Regions from separate parts of the Homo sapiens genome. Here region 2 is linked to region 1. The links are contacts of gene promoters, found by promoter capture Hi-C in blood cells and fetal thymus (Javierre and others, 2016). All regions are on one chromosome and are shown on one strand. The core of a region is centred on a gene start or on the middle of the fragment in contact, and the rest is flanking DNA. Distances in the headings are between cores, read along the strand shown.

Region 1 (6,201 bases), core at 2,455-4,954:
TTTTTTGAGATGGAGTCTCGCTCTGTCGCCCAGGCTGGAGTGCAGTGGCGTGATCTTCGCTGACTGCAAGCTCCACCTCCTGGGTTCACGCCATTCTCCTGCCTCAGCCTCCCAGGTAGCTGTGGCTACAGGGCCCGCCACCATGCCTGGCTAATGTTTTGTATTTTTAGTAGAGACAGGGTTTCACCATGTTAGCCAGGATGGTCTCGATCTCCTGACCTCGTGATCCGCCCACCTCGGCCTCCCAAAGTGCTGGGATTACAGGCGTGAGCCACTGCGCCCGGCCTACCTTTTTCTTTTTAAAGTTAGTTTTGCAAGTCAAGAGTCATAGTAACTGGGGGTACCCAAACTGGTTAAAAACCAAATTCAGGTTAAGGCCACACCAACTGTAGGAGACTGTGGACTCGCAGGAGCCCCTGGACGCTGGGCTAGGCTGATTACATTTAGGATATCAGGTTCCCTTTCTGGTGTCACATTTTAAAAGCGATATTGTCTAACTGGTGCCTGTCTAAAGGAGAGTGGCCAGTTGGTACAGGATCTGAAAATTGTGTTACTGTTAACACTTAAGGAACTGGGAGCATTATTCCTCCAACAGAAGACTGGGGGATTGAGAAGTTGCTTTTAATATTTGAAGAGCTGTCAAATAACAAAGTGATGATTCTTATTTTATGCACTTGTAGAGGAAAAGCTTCAATAAGGCAGTTTTTTTATTCTAGTAAATGAGGAAGACTTTTTTTTTTTTTTTTGAGACAGAATCTCACTCTGTCGTCCAGGCTGGAGTGCAGTGGTGTGATCTCGGCTCACTGCAACCTCCACCTCCCGGGTTCAGCAATTCTCCTGCCTCAGCCTCCCGAGTAGCTGGGACTACAGGTACACACCACCATGCCCGGCTAATTTTTGTACTTTTAGTAGAGACAGGGTTTCACCATGTTGGCCAGGCTGGTCTCGAACTCCTGACCTCACGTGATCTGCCTGCCTCGGCCTCCCAAAGTGCTGGGATTACAGGCGTGAGCCACCGCGCCAGGCAACTTTTTTTTTTGGGGGGGTGATGGTGGGGGGATAGAGTCTCGCTCTGTCACCCACGGTGGAGTGCAGTGGTGCGATCTCAGCTCACTGCAACCTCTGCCTCTCGGGTTCAAGCGATTCTCCTGCCTCCGCCTCCCGAATAGCTGGGAATACAGGTGCATGCCACCACACCTGGCTAATTTTTGTATTTTTAGTAGAGTAGGGTTTCACGCCACCATGCCTGGCTAATTTTTGTATTTTTTAGTAGAGACAGGGTTTCACCATGTTGGCCAGGCTGGTCTCGAACTCCTGATCTCAGGTGATCCACCCATCTTGGCCTCCAAAAGTGCTAGGATTACAGGCGTGAGCCACTGTGCCCGGCCTCAAGGAAGACTTTCTTAACAATTCATCATATAGTAGAAAATGAAAACATTCCCTAGAAAGGAGTGGACACCAGGTGGCCTTTCCCAGGGGAGCAGGGCAGGAATTATTGAAGCAGTTAGGAGGTGAGAGAGATGCCTGCCCTGGGGGCACCTGGGATGCTTGGCGTGGCCACTTCCAGCATCCTCCACAAACCTGCCTGCAACTCCCCCATACATGCAGCCTCTTCCGAGACAGAGGAATGGTCAGGGTCCCCTGGTGCCTGCCTCCCCCTTCATTTGGGTCTCTTCTTCAGGGCCAGCTCCACAGAGAATCCGTCCCTCATACCTCATCACTCCCTCCCCATTCTCTGGCCCTGATTTAGTTTTCTTCCTAACACTCTTTCTGACAGACACACTGTTACCTGTTAACTCATTTCCTTCTGTTTGTCCCCTCTAACATGCTTGCTGTATGGATGGAGGGGCCTTATTCTCCTGGTTCCTGGGGACAGACCAGTGTTCACAGACCCCAGACCAGGGACTGTTGTACAGCAGGCCTGCCATATTTGTTCAATGAACGAATGATTCCCAAAAGAAATAGAGCACAGAGTTCAGAGGCGGCCTTCAGGGAAGAAATTTCAACAATGTCAAAAATTAATTGTGGAGTATCCATTGATAGATGAATGGATAACTTAAATGTGGAATATGCATACAATGGAATATTATTCAGCCATAAGAAAGAAGGGGCTGGGCGCCGTGGCTCACGCCTGTAATCCCAACACTTTGGGAGGCCCAGGCAGGCGGATCACGAGGTCAGGAGATCGATTCCATCCTGGCCAACATGATGAACCCCGTCTCTACTAAAACACACACACAAAAAAATTAGCCAGGCGTGGTGGCGTGCCCCTGTAGTCTCAGCTACTCAGGAGGCTGAGGCAGGGGAATCGCTTGAACCTGGGAGGTGGAGGTTGCAGTGAGCCGAGATTGCACCACTGCACTCCAGCCTGGCGACAGAGTGAGACTCCGTCAAAAAAAAGAAGGGAAGGGAAGGGGAGGGAAGAAGGAAGGAAAGAAGGAAGGAAAGAAAGAAAGAAAGAAAGAGAGAGAGAAAGGAAAGAAAGAAAGAAAGAAAGAAAGAAAGAAAGAAAGAAAGAAAGAAAGAAATTCTGACACATGCCACAACATGGATGGAAGTGAGGACACTGTGCTAACTAAAGTAAGACTGTCACAAAAAGACATATAATGTATGATTCCACTTATACGATGTCCTTAGAGTAGTCTAATTTAGAGACGAATAGTGAATGCCAAAGGCTAGGAGGAGGAAAGAATGGGGAGCTAGTGTTTACTGGGTATGGAGTTTCCATTTGAGAAGATGAAAAAGTCCTGGAGACGGTTGGTGGTTGCACAAGAATGTGAATGTACTTGGTGCCACAGAACTACACTTGGAAACAGTTAAGATGGTAAGTTTTACGTTATGTGTATTTTACCACAATTAAGAAAAATTAATTATGGGTAGTTGAGAGAATGTGGTCTTCCTCAACTTACGGTAGGAAAAGTCAAGAATAACTTAAAGGCTGATAATAGCATTTCAAAGATCGAAACTGATCAGAGAGGCTATTCCATCAGGCTAGACTAGCTCAATAGTGACTTTTTCCAGAAGGAGAACCACTGGGAAGAGAGAACTGAGCAGTGAGGACAGCGAACTTGTTAAGTTTAGTTTTCTGCTTTAACGAGGGGCTTCCGGAGTCCTTTAATAAGATCCCCTCCCAAAAGTGGCACCCTGGGTCTCTCTGTCTCCCAGTCGTGTCCCCGCCCGCCGGGCCAGAGCAATGGACTCCCAGGAAGCAGGGGGGGCGCGGGCGGGGCGCGGGCGGGGCGGGTGGGGGAAGGGCAAGGACTCACTCTTCCTTTCCTCCTCCGCCGGGGCCCGCCCCGAGCCCTGGCCCCACCCCGGCTCTCTGGATCCGCCTCCTCCTCCCGACCCCGCCCCGGCACCTTGGCCCCGCCTTCCACTCGGCCCCGCCCCGGCGTCCTGGCCCCGCCTCCGCCGCCCGGCCCCGCCCCGCTCCCGGCGGACTGCGAGCAGGAAGAGCGCAGTGGCTCTGCCGACGCCGCGTTCAGAAAGGTGTGGAGGGGGCTGGGGGCGCAGGTCGCGATCAGGCTGCGTCTCCTGCCCGCCCAGCCACCTGCGGCCCTGGCCCCACCCTGCCGCTTTGGGCCGCTCGGGCTCGCGGCCGCCCCCGCCCCGAGCGCCGGCTCGGGGCTCTGCTGCTCTGGCCTGGGAGGCGGGGCCGGCTGCGCGGCGTCATGCATATGCATGAGCGGCGCGGCGGCGGCTCCATTGTGCCCTCGGAGCGGGCGGCGGCGCGATGGCGCGGGTGGCGGCGGCCCCGGGGCGGCGGGCGGCGCGGAGGGCGGGCTGAGCGCATGGAGCGGCGCGGGCCGGGGGCCGCCACGGCGAGGGGCCGGGCCAGGCCGGGCGGAGGTGAGCGGGGTCCTGGGGGTGGCCCCTGGCAACGCCGCCAGCAGGCAGGTGTGGGCCGGCGGGGGCAGGCAGGTGCGGCAGGTGCGGGCCGGCAGGTGCGGGCGGGCAGGCAGGTGTAGCTGGTCGCCCGGGGCGCCCCGGTTCCGCTGCGGCGCCACGGTAGGGTTCACAGCTGGGCTGGGGCTAGAGGCTCTGCCGCCCACCTGCCGGCACCTGCCACGCGTGCGTCGTGGTCTTGGGCAGGCTCGGCCCCGTGGGCGTCAGGGTCATCCAGCCCTCCCCTGAGTCTTTGTTGGAGGCTGGCCGAGGGGTGTAAGCGGCGCTCGGGGTTCTCCTGAGCGATGAAGGCTGGCCGGGCCTTCGCTCCAACCTGATCGTTCCTAGCTTTGGGGCCAGGCAGTCTCACCTACATGGTACGCCCCTCCGCTCCTACTTACGTGCCCACCAGCACGGCGATGTGGGGGCCGTCTGAGGCCGTCACCTGCTCGCGGAGGAGCTGTTCCGCTCCTGGGCTGAACGACGCTGAGCGGCCAGCCCCCAGCTGCCAGTTTTGATGGGGACACCCCTTTCCAAACTGGACATACTGAAGCTCAGGCGTGAGGATGCCCTGCTCCCCTGAGGTGCCTTGTCTTCCCTAGTGCCAGGTGTCCTTCACCGCGGCACCCCCACCCGGTGCCTTGTTTACCCCTCCACCTACCGTGTCTCTCCTCCCATTCCCTGGACCCTCTGCCCTGCAGTGTTCTGCCTCTCCTTCTCCCTAGGGTACCCTCTTTCCAGTATTACAGAACATCCATGGTGGTGTCTTTAATTTGTGTCATCGCAGATTTCACAGGGACACACACGGAACATGTGACTTGGTCTGAGACCGTGGTGATTACGGATAGGATGGACACAGACTCACCACCAAGTTCTGGCAAGCTAGAACCAGAGGGCATCCCTTGATGCTTAGTGTGGAAACAGGAGAAGTGAAGGAATCTTAACTTCCAGAGGTACTGACCTCTAGCCCTTGTCATGCCCAGGGGATAGTTACAAGCTGGAAGTGTAAATGAAGAGAACAAGCAGGTGACAGTTGCCGGTTGTAGATTTCTGAAGGACAGGCCTAAGATGTTTGGGGAGCATCCTGATTATTGGGATTGAGCTCCCAAGGGCTGATGACATGAAGGTGGTCATGTGTCCTCAGTCCTAGGATGCTACCAGATATCCATCTTACACATTGTAAACTGATGCCAGGTTAAGGTTGTCCCTTCAGCTGTTCACTGAAATGTCTCATGCCTGGGCCATTGCTTATTCCTGGACTTTTTGATGAACTCTGCATCCTGACTTAGCCCCACGCTTAGACATTTTAGTACTGTGGCCTTACAGGTAGAGGGGGCAGGACTTTCAGCTACCTGTATATGTGAGTACCCCACTTTTTGCTACCAAGGACCCCGCTCCTGCAACATTCCACAGCCATCATTTCTTCAATACCCTTTGACTCCATTGTCACCTGGGTTGGATCCTGACCCTGCAATCTTGGAGACAGTGAGTCCTGATGTGTGACCTATTGAGAAGCGTTGCCTGCCACAGGGCCCACTTGCTGGTCCTGCTCCTAGCTGACTAGGCAGGCAGAGAGGTGGCATGGAACAAGGCTCAGGAGGTCAACCAGGAGACTTGGGGGTGCAGCTACTCTGGGACATTTGGGGAAGAGAGGTCTGGGGTAGTGAGTTCTGTAACTCTGTCTAGAGGAAGATGTGATCTGACCCCCGAGAAAGCCTTGTGGCCCTCTAGACTGACCTTGTCCATCTCTCAAGGGGTCCTAGCTTCCAGCTGGAGTTAGTTTACAAGGAAAGCGCCAGGCACTAAGACCCTTGGTGGGCATGGGCCTTGCATGATCTGGGATCCAGATTCCAGGCTCCAGGCTTGTTCCCAACCCAGACTCAAAGCCAGGAGATGAGAAGAGGATCTGCACACACACAACGCAGAACACTATCCTATCATCAGGGGCACAGGGTCAAGGATACCAGACCTGGAGACTGGAAGTCTTTTCAGAGAGACTGTCCTCAGAGAGGAGACCAGAGGCATGAGTTCGGGTCGGCAGGAAATCCCCCTGTGCAGTGAAGAGTAAGCTCAGAGGGAACTGGAAATCTTTGTGGTCTCTGTCCACAGCAGAGAACCATCAGGGGTGGAATTCCCCAGGCTCATGTGACATAGGAGCCTGCTGTGGGCTCCTCCCCTCCTTGTACCTGCCCTGTGCTCCTTCTCCCCAGCTCACTGCATTTCCTAGATCTGAGGTTCTCAAACTACAGTTCCTGGACCAGCAGCAGCAGTAGCTGCAAACTTGTTAGAAATTCTGGGCTTAGGCCCCAGCCCATC
Region 2 (6,201 bases), core at 2,160-4,659, 280 kb after region 1:
TGGAAGTGCAGTTTGCAGAGTGAGTGAGATGAGGCAGGGGAGTAGGAGGAGGAGCTGAGGAGGAGAATGGGGCAGGGGAAGATGAGACAGGGAGGAGGAGGAGGGGAGGAGAGGGGAAGGGATGAGAGAGGGAAGGAAGGTGGAGTCATTGTTCCTGCTGTTGCCTTGCGTGGCTGTGACAGCTGTTGAAGCTGTCTTCTCACAGTTTTGCACACTGTGGGTTATGATTCATTAGTGGCATGTGAAATCAACCATGTAGGTAGCAACCTTTTTTTCATGTAAGAATTTAAAGGATACAAGTATAAAGTTAAAGAACTTAAGGAAAAATTTTGCTAGATTCATTTTGAATTAGAGCTGTCACGTATTTCTTAGCTATCTGCATGGAAAACACCTAGAAGCAATGACAGTCCAATAGCAGTGGAGCACACCTAGGACTTTATTGTAGTCTGAATTGTATGTCAAGTAGTGTGGTTACAGTAAGTGAGGGGATGTAGCTTTTTGCCACAAAATCTGTACTTTGGAAGGTGAATGTGAAGCAATGAGAACAAATGGAGATTATTAATCTGTGCTGTGGTTGGCGTTCAGAATTAGGCCACATTTTAGTATGTTTCATGTGGGGATCATTATTTTTTTTTGGACCAGCTTTTTTTTTTTTTTTTTTTTTTTTTTTTTGAGATGGAGTCTTGCTCTGTTGCCCAGGCTAGAGTGGAGTGCAGTGGTGCGATCTCGGTTCACTGCAAACTCCGCCTCCCGGGTTCACGCCATTCTCCTGTCTCAGCCTCCCGAGTAGCTGGGACTACAGGCGCCCACCACCGTGCCCGGCTAATTTTTTGTATTTTTAGTAGAGACGGGGTTTCACCGTGTTAGCCAGGATGGTCTCCATCTCCTGACCTCGTCATCCGCCCGCCTCGGCCTCCCAAAGTGCTGGGATTACAGGCATGAGCCACCGTGCCTGGCCTTTTCTTTAGAGTTTCTGATGAATTGCTTTTCTTTTTTCTTTCAAAAGAAACATTAAATTTTAAAAAATTTCAGTAGCTTTTGGGGTACAAGTGGTTTTTGGTTACATGGGTGAATTGTATAGTGATGAAGTCTGGCTTTTATTTTATTTTTTGAGACGGAGTCTCATTCTGTTGGCCAGGCTGGAGTGCAGTGGTGCGATCTCGGCTCACTGCAACCTCTGCCTCCCGACCTCAAGCGATTCTCCTACCTCAGCCTCTCGAGTAGCTGGGATTACAGGTGCCCACCACCACGCCTGGCTAATTTTTATATTTTTAGTAGAGACGGGGTTTCACCATGTTGACCAGGTTGGTCTCGAACTCCTGAGCTCAAGTGATCCACCAGCCTCGGCCTCCCAAAGTGCTGGGATTACAGGCATGAGCCACCTCACCCTGCAAGTCTGGGCTTTTAGTGTACCCATCACCCAAAAAGCGTACATTGTATCCAGTAGGTAATTTTTCATCTCTCACCTCCCTCCCACTTTCTCCCTTTCTAAGTCTCCAGTGTCCATTATATCACTCTGTGTGCCTTTGTGTAGCCATAGTTTAGCTCCCACTTATAAGTGAGAGAACCATGCCCGGCCCAGACTTCTTTTTTTAAATGTTCTAATAAAACTTTATTTACGGCTGGGTGCAGTGGCTCACACCTGTAATCCCAGCACTTTGGGAGGCTGAGGAGGGTGGATCACCTGAGGTCAGGAGTTCGAGACCAGCCTGGCCAACATGGCGAAGCCCCATCTCTACTAAAAATACAAAAATTAGCCGGGTGTGGTGTTGCGCGTCTGTAATCCCAGTTACTTGGAAGCCTGAGGCGGGAGAATCGCTTGAACTTGGGAGGTGGAGGTTGCAGTGAGCTGAGATCGTGCCACTGGACTCCAGCCTGGATGACAGAGTGAGACTCCGTCTCAAAAAACAAAACTAACAAAAACAACAACAAAACACAAGAAAACCCCACTTTATTTACAAAAACAGGTGGCTTGCCTGTGTGGTAGAGTTTACTCAGCCTTTTTCTAGAGAATGCCTTGTTATTGTGAATGAGATTCAGTTTTATTATGGTAGGCAGTGAGATTACTGGGAAATCTTTTTTTTTTTTTTTTTGTCGTGTGCATCTTTGTTTAGTCATTATTTTGATAGCTCTGTATCAGTTTTTTTTTTTTTTTTTTTTTTTTTTTTTTTTTTTTTTATGAGACAGAGTTTTGCTCTTGTTGCCCAGGCTGGAGTGCAATGGCACAATCTTGGCTCACTGCAACCTCTGCCTCCCAGGTTCAAGTGATCCTCCTGCCTCAGTCTCCGTAGTAGCTGGGGTTACAGACATGTGCCACCACGCCCTGCTAATTTTGTATTTTTAGTAGAGTTGGGGGTTTCTCCATGCTGGTCAGGCTGGTCTCGAATTCCCGACATCAGGTGATCCTCCTGCCTTGGCCTCCCAAAGTGCTGGGATTACAGGCATGAGCCACCGCACCCGGCCTCTGTATCAGTTTTGAATTTAGTTCTGGGTGTTTTCCTTACACCTAAAGTGTGGACTTTTTGGATTTCTACTGAGTAGCCAGTTCAGCAAAGTCTCTTCAGCTGATTATAATGTTCAGGAAAGACTCTTCAGCTGATAATAACTTCTGGCATCACCATTCAGCAGTCAGTCAAACATTAAATGATTACCTGTAGGCATTGTGGAGTTTCATCTCTGCATGTCCAGGCCAGCCCTTAGTCAAGGCCCAAGAAACATGTTTTTATCGTCAAGAACTTCTAGGCTCTTAGTTTACATAATGGAATCTTACAGATTTTCCTTTGTTTGCTTGCTGAACACTGTCATTGTCACCCTGGGATTTCTTTTCTCTGCTTCCTGGGTTGGTTCCACTGTTTCTTGGAGTCCACATCTTTTTCTCTCTTGGATGATCCTCGTTTTGCTGGGAGTAGATCCTCTAGTATGTTTTTCAAAAGGGGGTTTTTAGAGTGTAAAGATCCCAAGGCACTGCAGGTGTGAAAATAACTATTTTGCACCTTGATTGACAGTTTGGTTTTAAATTAACTTCCAGATTTAAATTAATTTCCACACAGAATTTTAAAGGGATTACCATATTCCCATTTATCAGGATACATCTGATGCTGATCTGAGTCTTACTGCTTTTACAGGTACTTTTTTTTGCATTTTCTTATTGGAAACCTAAGATTCTCTTGAAATTCTGCAGTTTTGTGAAGATGAGTCTAAATGTTGAGGGTTTGTCTCTTACATTCAGCCTACTTGTTACTGTGCTTTTTCTGTCCATAAAATTGAGTTCATCGTTGTTGTCTTCTGATATTTGTGTCCCTCTTTGATTCTGCCTGCTCTTATTCTCCTCTTAGGAAACTGTTAGACTCGATGGACCCAGCTTCTGTGGCCTTTAATTTTTCTCATGTTAAACTTTTTACCTTTTCACTTTATGTTCTAAGACAGGGTTGGCAAACTTCATGTAAAGGACCAGACAGTAAATATTTCAGGCTGTGTGGGCCAGGGGGCAAAATTGAGGCCATTAAGTAGGTACTTATATAAGAGAGAAAGCAAATTTTCGTAAATTTTTTTATTGATGAAATTCAAGGTATAATAATTGAGTACAATTTTTTGTAATATGGTTCTACTACTGAGAATGGAATTCTTTTTGGGGGCTAACATTTTGCTTAATCAGGGTTCAAAGTTGGTGATTCCCTTTATCGAATTGGTGGCAAATGTTCATCTGTAAAACATTTGCAGCTGTGGCCATCAGCAGCAGGCAGGCATTGGCCAACCCCGCAGTTCTCCTTCACATCATTCTTTGGGCTCTCCGCTATGTCCTTGTTATTATTCTACGAATTTTTTATTTTGGCAGTCATATTTGTAATTTCTAAGATATATTTCTTGTTCTCTGTTCTCTCTTTTTCTTTTTTTTTTTTTTTTGAGATGGAGTTTCACTCTTGTTGCCCAGGCTGGAGTGCAATGGCGTGATCTCACCTCACCGCAACCTCCGCCTCCTGGGTTCAAGTGATTCTCGTGCTTCAGCCTCCCGAATAGCTGGGATTAACAGGCATGCGCCATCACGCCCAGCTAATTTTGTGTTTTTGGTAGAGACGGGGTTTCTCCATATTGGTCAGTCTGGTCTCAAACTTCTAACCTCAGGTGATCTGCCCACCTCAGCCTTCCAAAACGCTGGGATTACAGGCGGGAGCCACTGCACCCGGCCGTTTTCTCTTTTTCATAGCTATCTAGTCTTATTTTATGGATGCAGTTCTTCTCAAGTGTCTCTAAGTATACTAGCTAGAATGTAGGTTCCTGTGCCTGTCTCTTCCCATTTGTTCTTTGGCTTTTCTCTCTCATGCTGACCGTGGGGATCACTGTGTTTGTGAGGGAAGGTTGGGGTTGACTAGTGTTCAGAGCATGTGGGTTTTCTTTTTAGTCATGTCTATTTCCCTGGAATCCTTCCCCTCCCTGCAGTAGCCAAAATAGAGGTGAGGCTGCTCAGCTGAGTGGCACCTCTTTCTGTATCTCCCTCCTGGTTTGCCTTTTTCCCTTTGAGCCTACCTGAAGGTCAGGGTCAGCTGGTTCTGCCCTGTATAGGCAACTTTTAGGAAGGAGCAATCTGAAATTGTGACTCTACTCTGGTTTTTAAAGACAGAAAGTGACAGTCCAGTTAATACCGGATATTGACTCAAATCTAGTTCTGATGCTGCTTTTCCAACTTTATGACAGTTTCTACATCTGTGGTATATGGAATAATAATTGAAGCACTAAATTTTATTCTGAAGCAATCAGTCTTTTTGGAATCAGGAAATATTAAACTTTATTTGTTACAGGTTAATGAAATAGAATTGTATGAAAGTACCATTTTTATAGCCAAAACACTGTTGAAAATCAGCACTTTGATTTGGTTCAACCTAATATTTAAAAAATTATATTGTAATTGTTATGTTTATTTATTGATCTGTGAATATAGTCACTCTAACCAGATTTTTTTTTTTTTTTTTTTTTTTGAGATGGAGTCTCACTCTGTTACCCAGGCTGGAGTGCAATGGTGCTATCTTTTCTTACTGGAACCTCTGCCTCCCAGGTTCAAGCGATTCTCCTGCCTCAGCCTCCCAAGTAGCTGGGATAACAGGTGCCCATCACCACGCCCGGCTAATTTTTCTACTTTCAGTAGAGACGGGGTTTCACCGTGTTGGCCAGGCTGGTGTCGAACTTCTTACCTCAGGTGATCCACCTGCCTCAGCCTTCTAAAGTGCTGGGATTACAGACATGAGCCACCGCACCCAGCCAACCAGAATATTTAATTAAGTAGCCCTCCCTATTTGCAAGCCATTCTGGAATTATCAGAGTTCTAAGAGCCTTCACCAGCAACAGATCCAACTTCTGCTTTTCTAGATTAGGAAATTTGCCTTGAAGAAGTGAGCTTGGCCAGAGGCACGCTGTTTAATTTCAAAGTGCTGCTGACTCAAACTCATGAGTCCTGGAGGCAGGTAGAGGCACTTGTAGGCTGAGGACCCGTAGAGCCCGGTGTGCCCTGCCCAAGCCCCACCTGGGAATGGAGTTATCTCTGTAAAGATCTTGCTGCCTTTGAGCAAGCACTGCAAATGGGGTAACTGGAACAGCCTTGTCGCGTGTTTCCACCCTTCGTATGAGGCAGGTACCATGGGTCTTCACCAACAGCACGGCCTGTTGTCTCCAGGAAATGGTAGCCCCTCACAGTGCTTTCTGTCTGCTTGTTTAGCTTTGGCATTTGAATGTGCAGAATGGTGGACTTTGAAATTAATGTCCTTCTGTTGACTGCAGAATTTCTGCTGGAAATGCAGGGAGGCTGCTTGTGGGGTTCGCGTGCTGTGGGAAGTAGGGAAAATGAGCTGGTTTACTTTGTGTCTTTTTGTGCATGCAGACTGTTTGGATTTTGCCAACAGTTTCTGGGTGCTGCCTGCTTTTTAAACTTTTAAAAAATTGTAAACAGCTTCAGTGGCTTTGCAGAAGGAAGCTGTGGTTTCTGGTCTTCCTGTTCAGTCATGTTTTTTTCAGAGGGAGGGCTAACATCTGGCCATATTTTTCAACAAATTCAGAAGTGAGTAGAGAATGCATAGTAGCTGTCGGCAGAGGAGGAACCAGAATCTCTCCAAAGAAATTCCTCAAACAGAATTTCACACAGGGTATTCCATGGAGAATGAGGTAGGTGCAAGTCCAGTGTGGAAAGCGCCATTTAGAATGATGATGGTGTGA

Evidence for each region. Contacts are between HindIII fragments. The CHiCAGO score rates a contact against its expected background, and 5 or more counts as called.
Region 2: a fragment that was not itself captured here is called in contact with the fragment with the promoter of ZMIZ2 in region 1 in 1 of 17 cell types (monocytes); the score reaches 5.3 in monocytes.

Annotation. Positions count from the first base shown.
Region 1 is chr7:44,745,143-44,751,343 of GRCh38, forward strand. ZMIZ2 (zinc finger MIZ-type containing 2) reads left to right here and starts at 3,705. Exons shown (of 19, transcript NM_031449.4): 1 at 3,705-3,849. RefSeq lists silencers at 3,200-3,729, 3,840-3,949, 3,960-4,009 and an enhancer at 5,790-6,201. The HindIII fragment of the contact is 22,932 bases long and covers 687-6,201 here.
Region 2 is chr7:45,021,648-45,027,848 of GRCh38, forward strand. The region is part of intron 1 of CCM2 (CCM2 scaffold protein); the gene reads left to right. Among named protein-coding and RNA genes, the nearest start is that of CCM2, 25 kb to the left of the region's middle. RefSeq lists a silencer at 5,450-5,519 and an enhancer at 5,910-5,959. The HindIII fragment of the contact is 9,674 bases long and covers 1-6,201 here.